Linked DNA regions of Homo sapiens: region 1 is linked to region 2. Evidence: promoter capture Hi-C in 16 types of primary human blood cells and fetal thymus (Javierre and others, 2016). All regions are on one chromosome and are shown on one strand. Each heading gives the region's core, a stretch centred on a gene start or on the middle of the fragment in contact. The rest is flanking DNA. Distances are from core to core; before and after follow the strand shown. Region 1 has its middle 160 kb from the start of LINC01508. Region 2 holds the start of DIRAS2 (DIRAS family GTPase 2).

Region 1 (3,359 bases), core at 450-2,949, 370 kb before region 2:
CAGAAAGTAAAACATGCATACCTAAAACTGCACAAACTGCCGATGCGCACCTCCACAAGTTATCACAGAGTGAATGTGCACATGTAGCCACAGCCTCTGGTCCAGAAATAAGCTTCATCAGCCTTGCAGAAGAAGCCACTCTTGCTCCCTACTATAGTTTGGATATGGTTTGTTTGTTTCCACCAAATCTCCTATTGAAATTCAATCCCCAATATGGGAGGTGGGGCCTAATATGAGGTGTTTAGGTCATGGGGCATATCCTTTATGAATAGATTGATGGTCTTTCTTGGGGTCAGTGAGTTCTCACTCAGTTTCCATGAAGGCTAGCTGTTTAAGACAAAAGACAAAAGCCTGGCACCTCCCCTGTCTCTGGCTTCCTCTCTTGCTGTGTGATCTCTGCACATGCTGACTCTCCTCAGCTTCCCATCAGGAGTGGAAGCAGCCCGAGGCCCTCACCAGACACCCAATCCTCAACTTTTCCAGATAGAATTGTGAGCCAAGTAAAACTTTTTTCTTTATAAATTGCTGAGTCTTAGGTATTCCTCTGTAGCAACACAAAAAGGACTATTTACTCTTTCCAAAGGTGACCACTCTCTCTGTTGTGCTATTAATGTTCACATTTTAAAACCAACAGTCTTTGTACCACTTACGCATTTTTAAACATTGCATTTTAGTTTTGTCTTCTTACACACTTTGTAATGATAACATGAAATGTGCATTCCTCTGGTCTGCCTTTGCTCACTCAGTATTTTTTGTATTCAACTGTGTTGTGGTATCAGCAGTGGCTTGTTGGTTTTCACTGCAGAATAGAATTCCATGGTATGAACACTTCACAGTCTATTGCCTAGTGTTTTTTTTTTTGTTTGACATTTGAGTGGTTTTGAGTTTTGGGCTACTATGGCTAACGTGTGTTGTTATGATTTATGATTGATGAGCATGCTAAGTCATAGCATGGGCACATATTCATTCAGGCTCTTACTGCTGAACAGACCAATGTCTGATAGAAGCAAGAGGCCCCTAACGGTTGGTTATCTGAGGAATAGTGATAAAGAAATCTTTATTTGTTTTTAACTTTTATTTGAGGTTCGAGGGCACATGTGCAGGTTTGTGACATGGGTAAATTATGTGTTGTGGGGGTTTGGTGTACAGGTTATTTTGTCACCCAGGTAATAAGCATAGTACCCGATAGACAGTTTTTCCATCCTCTCCCTCCTTCCAACCTCCACCCTCCAGCAGGTGGCTAGTGTTCCCTCTTTGTGTAAGAGACCTTTAAAAGCTGCTAGAAGGTGGTAAAAATATTTGGGGAGCTGGAGATTGAAATTTATGTGGGAAAGCAGGAAATAAGATGAGGAATCATTAACTGAAAATTTTTTATTAAAAGACTTGAGAGAAAACAAATGATTCCTTCCCAGTATATATAAATATATTCCTTGATGCCAGACTGCCCCTCATAGACCATGGTGATGATTCATGAATTATTACACTTGCTGGAATATAGTCACATTCACCTTGTGTGGTCACGTGTAGGCTAATATCTGTAACTAGCCTTAAATTACTTCTTAAGTTCATTTTATTATGAAACTGTGGAACATGGTTATATGTTTAAGGAAAAATCTCTTTAGGTAGGTATTGACACAAGTGTTGTAGATTTGAAGTTTTAAATCAATATTAAATACATTTTTTATCTTGTTTGTAGCTTGAAACATTATTTAAATCAGCAATTGTCTAGATAAGAAAATAAGTCATGTGGATTTGACAGGTCTGAAAATTGGAAAACTCTTGATTTTTAGAATCCAGAGGATTTACCCAGAGGCAAACTAAAACTGTGGCAGAAAATTAAACCGCTTAAATGTGGTTCTTAGACCACTGGCAAATAAATAACAACACAAGACAGCATTCTGGATTCAGCAGGCAAACTGCTTCCATGGCTTCTGAATATATTGAGAACAAATACTAGCCTGTAAAATGAAAAGAAAATAACTGAGTGCTTCCTCAATGTGTGATGTGAGGAATACATAACATAGCTTCTCTCCCAAAGAAATGTGCCATTAAGAGAAAAATCTCTTCCCAAATTGCTGTCTTGATGCAGATTGATGGTGTGCCAGCCTGGAATATGGGAAATGTGCCAGCCTCAGAGGCAATGTTCACCTGTGATCCGGGACTGTGTGGCCTCGGGCAGAGGACTTAAACTCTATGACCTCCTCTTTTCCTCTGTTTCATGGATACAATGCTTTCCTTGCATGGTACTTGTGATCATAAGAAATGTGTATGGAGAATCTAACACGTGCCCAGGGACCTTGTAGGAACCGAGTAACGGGCATTTTCTCTGTATTTATTTAACAAGTAATTCTTGAGCACCTATTGTTTGCCAAGAACAGTTCTTGATGCAGGGGAAAGTGCAACCCCCAAAAAAATTCTTCCTTCATGGAAATGCTGTTCTAGTGTTTGTGAAGGAAAGGGGCAAAAACAACAAACACTTCAAGTGCATAGTATTTTAGAGAATCCTAGGTGCTCTGGGAAGCAGGAAGCAGGTAGAAAGTGCTGCATTCACTCCACGGGGGACTCCACAGGAGGCTGTGCAGCCCCAGGCATGTGCCATGTGGGTTCACCATCAAGAAGTGACCTGCCATTCAGCTGTTAGGAGAGCTGTTGGCTGCAACACTGGAGCTGAGAACATACTGTACCAAAGGAGCCTGGTGACTTAGCATGGCTATGTCCTTGGGTCTGGTTATTTCTATGCAATGTGGGATTCTTCTCTAAACAACCTTTGCATTGGAGCTCACCACCGAGCCGGCCAGGACTTTCTCAGAGCTCCGCTGTGAGCTGAGGTTTTTCCCATCTTCTTTCCTTCCTACTCTCCTTTCAGGGCTGTCCAACCCACATCATGCCAATGGCTCTCCCTGCCTCTCCCATTCCCTACCCTTTACCAGTCATGTGTGTGTGTGTGTGTGTGTGTGACTCTGTCTTGGGGATGCTTCCTGGAAGACACTTTCAACATAGATGAGATGGAGTGGATGTGAGAGGAAAGTGGAGGGAAGCATCCCAGTGGAACTGTACGAGGACAGTCCCTGCACTGCTGATGAGGTATTCCATGTCATCAGTGGGGGATCCCAGCCTCACACACACCTCTGTCCCTCTTCCCTGCATCCTTGTGGGGGAGAAGCTGGTCCATGCTGACACTAAAAATGCATTAAAAAGTTTTTAATGTTAAAGAGACAATTATTCTGCCTACATTACCTTATTCAAGTGAGTTATGTAACCGAGGAACAGAGAGTAATTCGCAAACCCAAGCTTTCTGTTCTGCTGCAGCATAGTGTAGAAAAACAAGTGAAATTTAGCATAGTTCACTTGGCATCTGC
Region 2 (3,675 bases), core at 575-3,074:
ATTTTTCAGTAAGATATGCAGTATTTACCACTGAAATAATACATTTCCAATACAGTAAAAGTCATGTGTGGTGTATAGGATACGAACAACATACAATAAATAATTTTTTTAAAAAAAAGGTCTCCTCCACTCTTCTCATGAGGAAACTGCTTTGCTGAGAATGCTGGGTTGTTAGACACAAGCTGAAAAGTGACTTCCACAACTTGGCATTCAATCTGTATGTTTTCTGAGTCGCCTCTTAGGAACAATTCTATTAAAGCTGTAACAAAGAAAGATTCTGGAGGTTTCTACAATAACCATGAACACATACTTCCCATCTGCAGGGATCACTGAAGTGTGAGCAGCAGTTCTGTGCCTTGGTATAGACAGCAATACCCCCTCCTTTCTCCTTCCTTTCCCTGTGCTTGCCCGGGACTATTACCAAATTAAATGCCATATGTTAAATGGGATGAAAATGTTTCCTTGCCACTGTATCTTTTATTTCTATAAAATGAACTATGTGTCTTCCTGTCCCCAGCCCACAAAGCCTCCTGCATTTCCAGAGATAGATAAAATTGTGGACAATTTTCAATTTCAGACAACAACCAAGAAGAAAAAAAAGTATGATTCCCCTACAAATTTGTTAAATTTATTCTAATTTTATCCTCCCCTTTTCTCTCCCTCCCCCTCCACCTCCTCAAATCCAAATGTCACTGGAAATGGAGCACATTGTGACTGATTTGAAATGTAAAATGCTCCAGACTTTTAGCGTTACCTGGAAAATCTTCCTCAAAAATAATATTTTTGAAAATTTTTAGTTTGAAGCAGAAAAGTTCTGATATGCTGGACTAGCTTCTCACATCTGAAGGGATCCATTTAAAAGATAACGAGGGCAAATATGTAAAATAAATTCCTAGGGAAGGCAAGCTGTGTCTCTGCACAGTAGGAAGAAACTGAATTCCACCACAATGTTGTATTCCAGCATTCAATGGATGTAACAGATGATTCACAGAGCTTCTAGTTTAAAAGTCTCCCAAACCCACATAGAATGTGAATTGGAGTTTTAAAGAGGAAAAACAGCATTTTTCAAGAGAGAAGGAGAGAGGCAGGTTCCCACAACGCCAGAAGCCAGCACTGCTTTTCAGGCGAGCCTGGGAGCTGTCAGCAGTCATTGTCATCTGATGGGAAACCACAGTCTTACAACTAAGGACTGGATGCAGCCCCTTGCCCATCTTCTGCTCTTACAACAAGGAAGCGGAAAGGAGCACATGTAGATATCATGAAACACATTCTTTAAGAAGACAAACAAAAGATTTAGACAGGTCTCGGCCAAGCGCATGAAGTGAAGGAGTCGAGGATGAAAGCATGCCGAACCAAACGGCAGTCCCTAGCGTGCTTGGCTTTTTTCTCACTTTAGACCACATCTTCTTACTCTTTTCCTAAATCCATTAAACTTCCACATTAACAGAAACACCTGCACAGTAGAATTTTCCAAAACGGTAAATCCTGTTTTGGAAGGAATCCCTAATAATACGTAAGATACAGATTTTTAAAAAAGAACATGTTTTAGACAAGGACAGCATGATGCTCACCCTCCCTAACAAGGATACAGAAATGCAGATTTCTTCCCCTCTTACCAACTCCAGTACACGCTGACTCGCCCTCCCTGAGAGCGGTAATCCCTTTCCAGGGGCTGGCAAACAATCATGCCAAAGCCGCCCGTGCCCCAATGCGGACGCAGCGAAGCCACGGCAGAAGGGGGAAATCGGTTACCTGGGGAAGAACACAACTCCGCTCAGAGCTTCTTCAGAGCTCCACTCGCGCAGGACAGGGCAGCGCAGGGTGTGTGGATGCGGCTCCTCCCGGAGGCAGGCGCAGCGCACTCCCTCCCGCCGCCGTGACGATGCTGTCAGCTGCTCGCCCGCCGTGCGCCCTGCACCGCCCACCGGCCGTGCTCCCTGCGCCCAGCGCCCTCGCGCTCCACCCGCTCGCAGCCCCTGCACCTGCGCTGGCCTGAGCCGCTCCGGCCTGGCACTGTCACCGCCGCTGCACGCTCCTCCTACTCTCTTCAATCTCTGCCTTCTCAGATGTGCCAACTGCTGCAGAGGCTGCTGCTCCTGCTTAAATGGCGCCTGTTCGCCTCCAAAGAGCTTTTAGGTGCCACCTACTGCATGCTCTTGGAATAGATGGCGAGGACTGGAATTTTCTGATAATTTAATGAATTAAAATAATTCCATTGAAAGGGAACCAGATTCTTTTGTTCGCATTGCGAACTATAATCGCTACTAACCATATAGACTTTTTTTTTCCATTTCCAGATTTTAACTTTTAAAAACCGACTCATTTAAAGGCAGACGAAATGCCCTGCCCCATACCATAGCCAACCACACAGTGTAGATTAATATATTCTAATTTAATAGGATCCTATGACAACACCGCCATTGGCAAGCTTGGATTAGAATTGCTTTTTCACTGAGTGGTTTCACATTAGCATTTCAAGCAAATGACCACGTTTATTTCCTGACATTGATAAACAATTTTGTCAAAGACGCGTTGATTAAAAAACAGGTGAATCAGCAAGAAAAAATATTAATGGCTAACAATTCTGTGCAGGCATTTTTAAAAGTGCTTGAGCATAACATTGATCCATGTTAAGTTTAAACTACAGACTGAAGGAAGATTTCTTCTCTTGGTTATATTACTCATTCTTTTGTAATACCAAATATGCTAAAAGACTTGAGCAAAATTAATATTCTGTAGTTCTTTACATTTGATTTTTGTTGTAGAATCCTATTTATCTGTTTTAATCCCGTCTTCACTTTCTAAATAATTAAAACATGTTAACCTTTGAAGTTCATTTCCATAGTAAAATTCTGCCCTGCTATTCACAGGAAATATGCTTTTTAAAAATCATACTTAAAAACTACGCATTTTACAACTTATAGTCAAGAAAACTTATTTTATTCCCCAGTTCATCCTAATTCTGGCCTTGATCCTACAGCCATTGGAATATAAAAATAAAAATACACTCTTTTTACTAAAGTCATTTAAGGCTACTTCAACAAACCTGCCCCTACACTAATGATGTCTAAAAGCAGAGTGGTCACCCTGTCCTCCACAGTCTCCTCTTCATTGCAAAGGAATATATGGCCACTCAGAAACCCATCCCAGAGGAGGCTCCAAATATGATGACAGTGGATTCTGAGCACTGCCTGATGCAGTTTCTGGGTCCTGAAACAACCTTCCAGTTTTATAAGTCAGGATGTTGTTTTCCATGACAACCAAAATGTAGGTTATCAGGTTAAATGACAAAATGGAATTTAAGAACTAAACAAAGGAGGGTAAAAAGATTAAATAAGCAAAAATCCAGTGCTAGTATGGAAGCAGGGAGAGCAAATCAGGAGCTGATAAAGAGAGCCAGTTCTATGCTGAATATCCCACAATGCAGAAGAAGCCTGCCTTTTGCCACATGCCATCATTATTTGTTCTGAGAATGTGAAGCAGAGGCCCAAAGGCCTCATTTAAACAAGGAGCAACTCACTTAATATGATGTCTCTGGCCCCTTTGGCACTCCCCACAATCCCTAGACTTTCATCAGCCAGAAGGAGCAGATTGCTCCCAAATTCCTCTTTTAACTTCCCCTTAACTTACATCCTTCTAAGAGCCTGACCCATTTGCTTCTAGGCTAGGGGCTCC

What was found. The method cuts DNA at HindIII sites, captures the fragments that hold promoters and counts their contacts. A CHiCAGO score of 5 or more calls a contact.
Region 1: a contact is called between a fragment that was not itself captured here and the fragment with the promoter of DIRAS2 in region 2, in 1 of 17 cell types (M0 macrophages). The highest score is 5.4, in M0 macrophages.

The regions. Positions count from the first base shown.
Region 1 is chr9:90,269,776-90,273,134 of GRCh38, forward strand. No RefSeq gene overlaps it. Among named protein-coding and RNA genes, the nearest start is that of LINC01508, 160 kb to the right of the region's middle. The HindIII fragment of the contact is 3,179 bases long and covers 111-3,289 here.
Region 2 is chr9:90,641,000-90,644,674 of GRCh38, forward strand. It overlaps DIRAS2 (DIRAS family GTPase 2), which reads right to left and starts at 1,825. Exons shown (of 2, transcript NM_017594.5): 1 at 1,753-1,825. RefSeq lists a silencer at 1,764-1,813. The HindIII fragment of the contact is 14,084 bases long and covers 1-2,426 here.